3 separate regions of the Homo sapiens genome follow, and all the other regions are linked to region 3. The links are contacts of gene promoters, found by promoter capture Hi-C in human tissues and cell types (Jung and others, 2019). All regions are on one chromosome and are shown on one strand. The core of a region is centred on a gene start or on the middle of the fragment in contact, and the rest is flanking DNA. Distances in the headings are between cores, read along the strand shown.

Region 1 (3,255 bases), core at 341-2,840, 1.2 Mb after region 3:
AAAAATAGAACCTGTAGGAAAAGTCCAGGAGAGGTGGGAGTTAAATGGGTCTGGGAGAGGCAGCTGTATGCAAATGAGCAGCTCTTTAGTTTGAGGAGGGTGGGGAAGCCAGAACTGGGGGACATTGATTTATACAGCAGCAAGAAAGGTTTAAGTTAGACTCCAGGAAGTGAAACTTGATGAAGGCTTCTGGTGAACTAAGTACTTCCCTTGGCTGCCCCCCTGCTCAGGAGGCCCTGGTAGACCCCTCCCTTGTCCCACAAGGGGCCAGGCATGAGGATGACTGGAAATGTGAAGTCCTAGAGGGCTGTAAAGGCAGGAACTATCTGATACTGTCCCTGGGTCATATGACAAGCAAGGAAAGAGTGTGAGCAGGGTCTGTCTGCTCTGGTTTCTGGGCCTGATGCAGGGGCTGGAGCAGATGACTTCTGTGGGTGGGGATTCCTCACATGGCATGAGGAAACAGTGATGTTTCAGGAATTGGATACTTTTCACATTTCCTCTAGGTTATCTCCCATATGGCTATATCCCTAGGAAATGTCTCACATCAGTTAAGGCAGTTGATGCATTCTAACTATGACCCTGGGATCAGCTTTAGGAAAGGGGTCGCCAAGGATTGACGGAGCCTAATGCATCCCAGGATGTCAGAACTAAAAGGATTGTGGCAGATTATCCAATCCAACCTCCCAACCCTTTGCAAGTGAAGACACTGAGCTCTGGGGAGCTTTCAGAAATTAGAACATCAGTGGTGAAATCAGCAGCATACCCAGGTCCCTGGATGTCTGACCCAGTGTTCCTCCAACCAGCTCATGTTTGACTCTCAAAGTGAGAGCCACGAGGCCAGGGAAGAGGTCAGGATGAACACAGAAGGATAGAGGCCTGGAAAGGGGTGATGGGGCCAGAAATGGGGAAGGGGCAGGAAGGAAAAGAGAAAAGAAAGCTTTCCCTCTCTTGGGCTGGGTGGTGAGAGGAGCCAGGCAAGATTTTCTGTTGTTTTAGAGAGAGCTAAGGGTAGAGGGCTGGTGTGGGAGGCAGGGCTGCTGAGGGGGGCCTCTCATGGGGGGCTCCTTTGGGGTCAGCACTTTCCTAGCTGGCTGGCTTCATCCACCCACCTTCCCTAGATTTCCCCACTTCCTACATTCTCACCTGCCCCTTCCGCCAGTTAATCTCTGAAACCACAGGAAGAGTGGGGTTCTGGGGGCAGATAGAGGAGGTACTGTGAACGGGGTGTGATGTCCTAGAGATGTCACCTGGAAACAGATGTGTATACCCCAGAGGATGCCTGAGCCCCCTCCAGGTCCCTCACCAACATCTCAAAGCACAAAATGGTATCCAGTGTGCTGAAGACCTACTCACGGTAAGGGCTGGAGCAGAGAGGAGGATCAAGAGGCTTCCAAGTATGCGTTCCCTGCCGGAGAAAGCCGGTCTGGTTTCCCTCGCTGGAGGGCCTCTCGATTCTCAGGCTTCCATCAATGTGTGAGCAGGAGCCTTGCACCAATGTCCCTCTCCCAGGTCACACACCTCTAGGACCTCTGCGTCCATCCTCCTGCCTAAGCATTTCCCTGACGCACCTCCAAGTGGCGTCCTCCTCTCCACAAGGGAGCAGTCTCTGGGCTTCCTCCAACTTTTCTCATGCTTTTAAGCTAAGCCACAGCCCCTCACTGGGATCTATGGAAGAAGGACCACTCCTAGCTGTGCTGGGGAAACTGCCAATGCAGTGATCTCCCCACTCCTCTACTTGTTCCTAGAGACCCTCCTCTATCTTATCTAGCTCACCGGCCCACCTGTCCTCTCCTCCCTTTCTTCCGTAAGGATGCTGCAGCCACCCCTGCACCTGGCCGCAAGAGGGCACCATGCCCTCACTGCCACCCCAGCTCTCCAGCCCACTCCTACCTCTGCCTTCCTTATAGTCCTGCCAGATCGCACTTGGCAGAAAGGAGCCAACTAGGAAATCCCAGGATAATCTAAGAGGTTTATGTCAAAAGGTTTACAAGGGAAAAGGTAGGTAAAAATAAGTGCCTGGCACTCTGCCAGCTGCTGGGGATTCAAAGGTGAATAAGACCCCTACCTGCCCACTTCTTAGTCTCAAAGAGGAGACAGGTAATTACTGTGCAGTAGGTGAGCCCAGGAGGGTAGAGAAATGCAGCCTGCTGATGTAACAGCCAAGAGGGGCTCCCTGCCCCCAACTTCACCAGGGGCTCAGGGAAGATTCCTAGAGGATTCCTGAAAGGTGAGTAGGAAGCAGCAGGTGAGGGAGACAAGGGCAAATCAGGAGGCAGGAACAGCAAGCCCGGGAGTGGGATCAGCATGAGCAGAGGTTGGGAGGCATGAAAGATTTAGAGTGGAACATAGGGTAAGTTGACTTTGTCATATTCCAGGCACCAGGTTCTGTTCCTCTCCTTTCCTGGTCTGAGGAATGCCCAACTGTGGGAGCTTTCAGTGCTACCCTAAGAAGCCTAGCAGAGTTCCCAGGCCCTCCTGCAGCCCTGCCCTCCTCCTTTTCTCTGGGGAGGAGCGGAGTGTCCGGGCTTGGGCGAAGGTGCTATCACTCAGTCCTCATGGTGTTCCCTGGATGGTGACCTCCTGATTCAGGTTGTTATTATTCCCATTTTGCTGATGAGAAACCAGGGGCTCAGGAAGATGGAGGAACCTGCGCAGGACTGCGTGGCAGAGCTAAGCCCCTCAGCCAGGGCTTCTGCCCCCAGCCCCTGTGGCCTGTGCTGCTTAGAAGGGACCGTATGGAAATCCCTCTCTCCCCATGTGGTCCAGAAGGCTGACACTAGCCATTTGAAGCAGATTTTTTTTTAATGGAGGCTTTCCAATTACAAAAGTAATAAATACTCATTATTTTAAAAATCAAACAATATAGAAATTCACAATATTCACAATATTGAAAGTAAAAGTATCTTATAATCCCACCTCTCTCTCCCCAAGGTAACTACTCTTAACAGTTTGATATGTATTTTTCTAGACTTTCCCATGGGTTTGCAAATATGATTGTACATTTTTAAAAAATGAAATTATGCTTTGCTGCAATTTGCTTTCTTCAACTTAACAGTCAGTCTTGAACTGTTCACATGCATGCATACTGATCTATAAAGTGGGGCTTCTTGTGATTCCCACTTATTGCTGAGGAAGCCAGGCTTCCTCAGGGAAGGTAAGCTTCCCCAACCACACAGCTCAGGAGGGACAGACTTACCAGCCCAGCCTGTCAAGATCTGGGGCAGCCAGTGGGGAGCTACACCCACCCACTCA
Region 2 (3,175 bases), core at 33-2,532, 1.1 Mb before region 3:
ACTGTATTTATTAGTTCATTCTTATACTGCTAATAAAGACATACCCAAGACAGGGTAATTTATAAAGGAAAGAGGTTTAATGGACTCACATTTTGGCATGGCTGGGGAGGCCTCACAATCATGGCAGAAGACAAAGGAGAAGCAGAGACACATCTTACATGGTGGCAGGCAAGAGAGCTCGTGTAAGGGACCTCCCCTTTATGAAACCATCAGATCTCATGAGACTTAACTTATTTACTGTCAGGAGAACCGCCTGGGAAAGACCTGCCCCCATGATTCAGTTACCTCCCACTTGTCCCTCCCATGACACGTAGGAATTATTCTCTAGTAAAACAATAAATTAGATCAAGGATGCTAAACTCTGTATTCACCTAATATATCAATATTTAGACTAAAAGAAAAGACTAAAAGACAAAAAGAAAAGATATCAGACCAACAGCCATAACTCAGTTCTCTTGTGTGTAACTACTTTTTACTCCTAGAGACAAAGGAGTTGTCTTTACTTTTATTCCAAAATGAGATTTGGGTGGGGACACAACCAAACCATATCACTGACTGAGTCTTGCGCCTACCTTCTGCTTAATGCTTCTTTCTTTTTAGAAGTAGAAATATTCATGAATGAGAAAATTATAGGCACTGGACCTTCCTCTGATGCACTGAATAAAGCTCAGAGTTCGCTCTAATCACACTTGAAGGAGAATAGGTTGAAGAATGCAGGGTAATTTAGAAATGCAAGAATGCTTGTATATCCTTTTACTAAGGAGATTTTTAAAAAATCTTCAAAATAACTCTGACCACCCTTAGTGTAGAAAGTATTCTAACTCATTTTTATTCATTCTTTTAAATAAGTTACTTTCTCTTGACCTGGAGTAGGACAGTCCCAACTTCCAGTTGAATAATAATCCCCTAGAAACAATGCTTTGTTATTTCTGACACTGGTTCACTGCTCTCCTCTTCACAGATCCATTACTACTAGTGTTTGACCTTCTGGAAGGCACAAGGTGCTCCTGAAATCATAGTTAGGACTGGGAACTGAAGGGCTGATGCAAATGTATCTTGTAAGACAGTCTGTGTTCTGTTACAAATGATCTCCATCCTGGTGTTCTTTCCTGCCCAGTTCATTTATTTTTCCTAGGATCTTTGCACAGAGCAGAGCAACATAAACTCTATTACAGTCTTATCTTTTAGTGGGCTTTTGGCCAAAGGTTCAGAGCTCTAGAATTTAGAATTACTTTTTACTTCATAAAATCACAGGGTTGATGTTAGCACTTTTTTTTTCAGCCATTAATTCATCCCTTGGTCATATGTAAATAAACTAAATTTGTATGATGTAGTTGGTGGAGTGAGATGTCTGGTTTATTCAGCTTGGAAAACCTCTTTCAGAACATGGATAAACATGTATTTGTGCATTCCCATAGCTTCCGGCAAGCTCTGTAGAGAAGGTCAGAGGAATAAAAGTAAAGGCAACTCCTTTGTCCCTAGGAGTAAAAAGTAGTTGCACACAAGAGAATTGAGTTATGGCTGTTGGTCTGTTATCTTTTCTTTTTGTCTTTTAGTCTTTTCTTTTAGTCTAAATATTGATATATTAGGTGAATACAGAGTTTAGCATCCTTGATCAAATTTATTGTATTACTAGAGAAGTACATTTTTACCAGTGAAAATACAGTCAAGTGTGAACATTTTAAATGCAGAAAGCCTGAGATTTTGTCCTATTCAATAAAACGGCTGAATTATAGAATACTCAAGAGATGTTGTTTTCCTTAAGAAGATATACTATAAATATTCATGCGTACTAAGCCTATAGAAACATAAACTAGGCTTAGTTCAACAATAAATACTTGCAAGCTCAATGAAGACATAATGGATACAAAGATGATACCCTCAGGAAGCTTATAGTTTAGTTCTAAATTACACTACTGTATTTTCTTTTCTTTTTTTTTTTTTTTTAAAGAAAACAGTTTAACATCAAATGTTTCCCAGGTTTACTTTTTGCACAGTGCATACAGTTTTGGGAAAATATGTGGTTACAACACGATATTCTAGGCCAGTTATGTTGGCTCACACCTGTAATCACAGCGCTTTGAGAGGCTGAGGCGGGCGGATTGCTTGAACCCAGGAATCCGAGACAAGGCTAGGCAATATGGTGAAATCCCGTCTCTACAAAAAATCCAAAAATTAGCCTGGCTCGGTGTTGTGCCTGTAGTCCCAGCTACTCAAGAGGCTGAGGTGGGAGAATCACTTGAGCCCAGGAGGTGGAGGTTGCAATTGCCACTGCACTGCAGCCTGGGTGAAAGAGTGAGACCCTGTCTCAAAAAAACAACAACAATAAAAACAAAATAAAACACCCTATGATAGTCCACAATTTGTTCGATGCTACTCTAGATCATCCTAAAGGAAAAAGCAATCAGTACGACACCAAGTCTTTAGAATTTCGAGGATTGGTTGATATTATCTCCCAGTAGATGAGAGAGCAGATCTTATTTTTTTTCTGTGAGCAGATTCGCTGGCTTCATCTGGGCCTTCCCTATGCTAAGTTCAATTATTGATATTTTCTTTTTAAAAAGCCACATACCTTGCTAACACGAGAAGAGGGCTGGGGGGAAAATGCCACACTTGGACAGAATGACTATAATTATCAAAACCAGAAGGCCATCAACGTTGCCTCCAATGATGGTAGGCAAAGAATGTTACTTCTCATCTTTCAGGAAGATGACAATGATCTTAGTTCGTTGGTTCTCTATATTCAGCCCCTCATATAGAGATTTGTTGAAAGGATCCACAGTTCAGTTACATATCTTGGTAACAGTTTAGAGTGACCCAACGAAATCTCTGCAGCCATGGTTACATTTTCTTTATGTGACGTGATGGCATAGCTCACTGAATGCCATTCTTCCACATGCTGAACTAAATTGATCTCATAAGTGTGCTTCTGACTTTGGATGCACAAAGTGTAGGCCTGAAATGAAAGCTATTCCTGGGATGCACTGAGCAAATAAACTGCCATAGTCATCTGCCCCCTCTCCTCTATACCGCTGTATTTTAATTTAGTTTATAATAATTAAAACAGCTTGTACATTGTATTTTATTATAAATGCAATTAATGAAATATGAGTAAATGAACCTTTAGTATTAAAAACCATCCATAATCTTTTTTTTTTTTTGAGACGGTGCCTCA
Region 3 (3,206 bases), core at 622-3,121:
AATTTAAAAAAATAGAATGCTAAAGAAATCTCTGACAGGCCACAGTGTGCCATCAAAATTGTCTGACATGAATTGTAAATTAGACTTTTTCTTTTCTAAACTAGAGGCAGAATCTGAAGAAAAAAAATTAAATGAGAATTTTCACACCAGAGCAAACCCAGAAATGATAAGTCAATGAAAATGAGCTTAAGGCAGAGTCCCTTATGGAAAAACAGAGCAATTAACAAGAAACTGGAGGTCCAGCATTTCCTCTCATCCTTTTGTCTGGCAATCAGCGTTTGGGTTCTCAATAATGGAAGTTTTTCTCTGAATTCAGTTTCTCTGGGTCCACCTCAATGATCTCATTCCTTTGGAAATGAGACATACAGTCAAAAGTTCATTGCATGGGTTAGACATTGTTTTTTAACTGCAGAGAGAAAAAGAATAAGGGAAATGGTTTCTAAAATCTTAAGCAAGTGTTGTACTTAGAAAGTTCTAGTCAACAATAAAATTATCCAAAGACAATTAACACAAACTGCACACAAGGAAATGGATTGTCTGAACTCTGCTGCGCTCTTTTCACCTTTCTGCAAGTCAGCTGGAATCCTGTATATCACTGAGAATATCAAATCAAAATTGAGTAATAGGTTCAGTAATTTTTAAAAATTCCCTCAAATCAAATGTTGTGCAATAATAGATGAACTTACAGGAAATAATTTTAAGGTGAGCAAGGTACACTTTTCTTCCAGTATATTTTCATTTTAAAAGGAATTTTTTAGTTCTTATTGCACTTATGAGGAACAAAGCACTGGGCACAAATTGTTACAAAGCACTCATCCCTTGATATGTTTTGTCTTGTATTTCCACATAGACATTTCAACCTCACTGCAAGCCACCTTACCATTTTACTGAGTTAAAACTAAATGAAAACACAAAAGGATGCAAATTAAATTCATCTGCAAAACAAGAGATTACCAAAACAATTAAATGTGAAAAGGTTATCATACTAAATCACTTTTTTTTGTTTGTGTCTTGAACATTCACTATGGAACTGGAATAAGCTTCTGCCACTACCGGCAGTTACAGCTACCACACTTTGGTAAATTCTGTATTCAAACGCATTTCTAAGTCACAGGCTATCTGGGCTACTAGCTGCATGTGCCCCAGGTGCGAATCAAATGAAGTTTTAATTACTGCTACTTGTGATCGGTATCCAATTAGACCTTTTACCCTCCTCCATTAGCAGAGGGCTGTGGCTCAACTTGGTTGTGGAGAGGTTTCCCAATGCCACAGGGCGTCACGATAACTCAATTCGGAGTGAATAATTTAAGAGCAGAGGTGCTTTCTCCCAGGACCCTCGACTCTCGCTGGAATCAGGACCTGCGTGGGTCGCGGGCTGGAAAGAAAATGTCAAAACTGGTAACAGTGCTGACACGTGTGGCCGGAGATGAGCGGTCCGGCCCTCGATCAGGATGGGGGGCCAGTAGCCCCGCCTCCGGCAGCTAGGGCCACACCCCCGGCAGCTAGGGCCGCGCCCTCGACTGTGGCTCCGAGGCCAGGTCCTAGGGCCGAAGTTTCCATCGTCTCACCTGAACTAGGCCGGGCTGGGCCCGGGCACTCGCGGGCCTAGGTTTCCATACCAGGAACCGCTTTAGCCAGCCTGGGGCTGCCTTTAGAGTCGCTGCTGCTTCCGCCTTCTCTCCTGGGGTTTGTGCGCCCTGACTGGCAGCAGGGGGTTGGGCCGCCAGACCCGCCCGTTTCCGCGCCGCCCGAAACTCAGCTAACCGCTGTTCCATGGCGCGCGCCTCGCGTCCGTTGGCCGATAAGGGAGCGCGCGCCCGCAGGCCGCACAGCAGTTGCCTCCGCTCGGCCCGCGCCGGCCGCCGTGCGCCTGCGTGGCAGAAGCCCCTGCTGAGCATGCGCACTGGTGTGACCCGCGTCTCCTCCGTTTGTGAAGTCTGGCGGGTCGCGTGTATACTCAGCCGTTCTCTCTTCACAGGCACGTGGACACAGTGTCACCTCCTCAAGCCAAGTCTAAAGCACAGGGCTGCCCCATTGCCCTCTCCCAAAGGCCGCTCTGCCTTGCTGCATCTCACTTAAGGGCTCGAGGCCCCACTGATCCAGCGTCCTGTATTCGGGATCTCTGTTGCTGGGCCCCAATGAACAGCGCCACAGTGAGAAGATGGTTCCAGGGGTTAGGAGAGGCCCGTGATCTCTACGACATTCCAGCGTCAGAGGAATAACAGGCTACATCTTACCCTTTTTCTCTTATCAAGGAAAGGGTATGCCAATCTTAGTACCTGGAGGGTGACTTTCTCACTGCTCACAAAGCAGGCTGTGCAGCTCCATCATTGGTCTTGCCACGTTGGGAAATTATCTCGTTTTGTGTCTAGATACGTCAGAACCTTAAAAAAACCAACAACAAAAACTTTTATTGGGGTGCAACATAAAATACACATCTTAAGAATATGACTCAGTAGATTTGCTCTTATGTATGCACCTGTGTAACTACCACCCAGATGGAGAGAAAGAACATTTCTGTACTCTGGGAGTTTCCTTGTGCCCTCTCCCAATCAGTACCCTCCCAAAAGGACACAGTTCAGGTTAGGGGCTGTTTTATACGTTCTTAAAGCTGTAAGCATCTAGCTAAGTGTCACTTACATAATTAAGACTCAAATATTTGTTGGATCTGGCTGAGGGTGACTCGAGAAATTAGACAAATTAGAACAGAGTCATCCATTCATTTAACAGACGTTTACCTAGGGCCTGCTCTGTCTAAAGTCACAGGCACTGGGGATGCTGGGATGAAAGGAAAAAACAAACAAAAACCTGTTTTCTTAGAGCTTACACTCCAAATGGAAATACAGACAATAAACAAATGTGTATCTACATATTTCATGTCATATCAGGTACTGATAAGTGCTGTGAAGAAAAGTGAAGCAAAGTAGGCAATGGTGGAGGTATTAGAGAAGACCTCCCTGAAGGTTTGTCATTTGGGCATAGACTTAAATGAGTGAGGTATGTAGATATCTGAACAGGAGTGTTTCAGTCAGAGGAACAAGTGCAAAGGTCCCGAGGCCTCAAATAGCACGCTTGACTTGTTCACAGAACATCAGGGAGGCTGTTATGACTGGATTGGAAGGAGGGAGAGGGAGGCAGGGAGGGAGGGAGGGAAGGAGGGAAGGAGGGAGAGAGGGGGAGAGAGGGAGGGAGGGAGGGAGGAAAGA

What was found. The method cuts DNA at HindIII sites, captures the fragments that hold promoters and counts their contacts. A contact is called where the count stands out against the background at its distance.
Region 1: a contact is called between a fragment that was not itself captured here and the fragment with the promoter of SAYSD1 in region 3, in 1 of the 25 tissues and cell types used here (pancreas).
Region 2: a fragment that was not itself captured here is called in contact with the fragment with the promoter of SAYSD1 in region 3 in 1 of the 25 tissues and cell types used here (hippocampus).

What each region holds. Positions count from the first base shown.
Region 1 is chr6:40,327,002-40,330,256 of GRCh38, forward strand. No RefSeq gene overlaps it. Among named protein-coding and RNA genes, the nearest start is that of LINC00951, 27 kb to the right of the region's middle. RefSeq lists an enhancer at 2,686-3,255. The HindIII fragment of the contact is 4,594 bases long and covers 1-3,255 here.
Region 2 is chr6:38,000,355-38,003,529 of GRCh38, forward strand. The region is part of intron 2 of ZFAND3 (zinc finger AN1-type containing 3); the gene reads left to right. It also overlaps the pseudogene ITGAEP1. Among named protein-coding and RNA genes, the nearest start is that of ZFAND3, 180 kb to the left of the region's middle. The HindIII fragment of the contact is 5,667 bases long and covers 1-3,175 here.
Region 3 is chr6:39,113,315-39,116,520 of GRCh38, forward strand. SAYSD1 (SAYSVFN motif domain containing 1) reads right to left here and starts at 1,872. Exons shown (of 2, transcript NM_018322.3): 1 at 1,569-1,872. The coding sequence starts at 1,775. RefSeq lists an enhancer at 1,466-1,755. The HindIII fragment of the contact is 12,223 bases long and covers 1-3,206 here.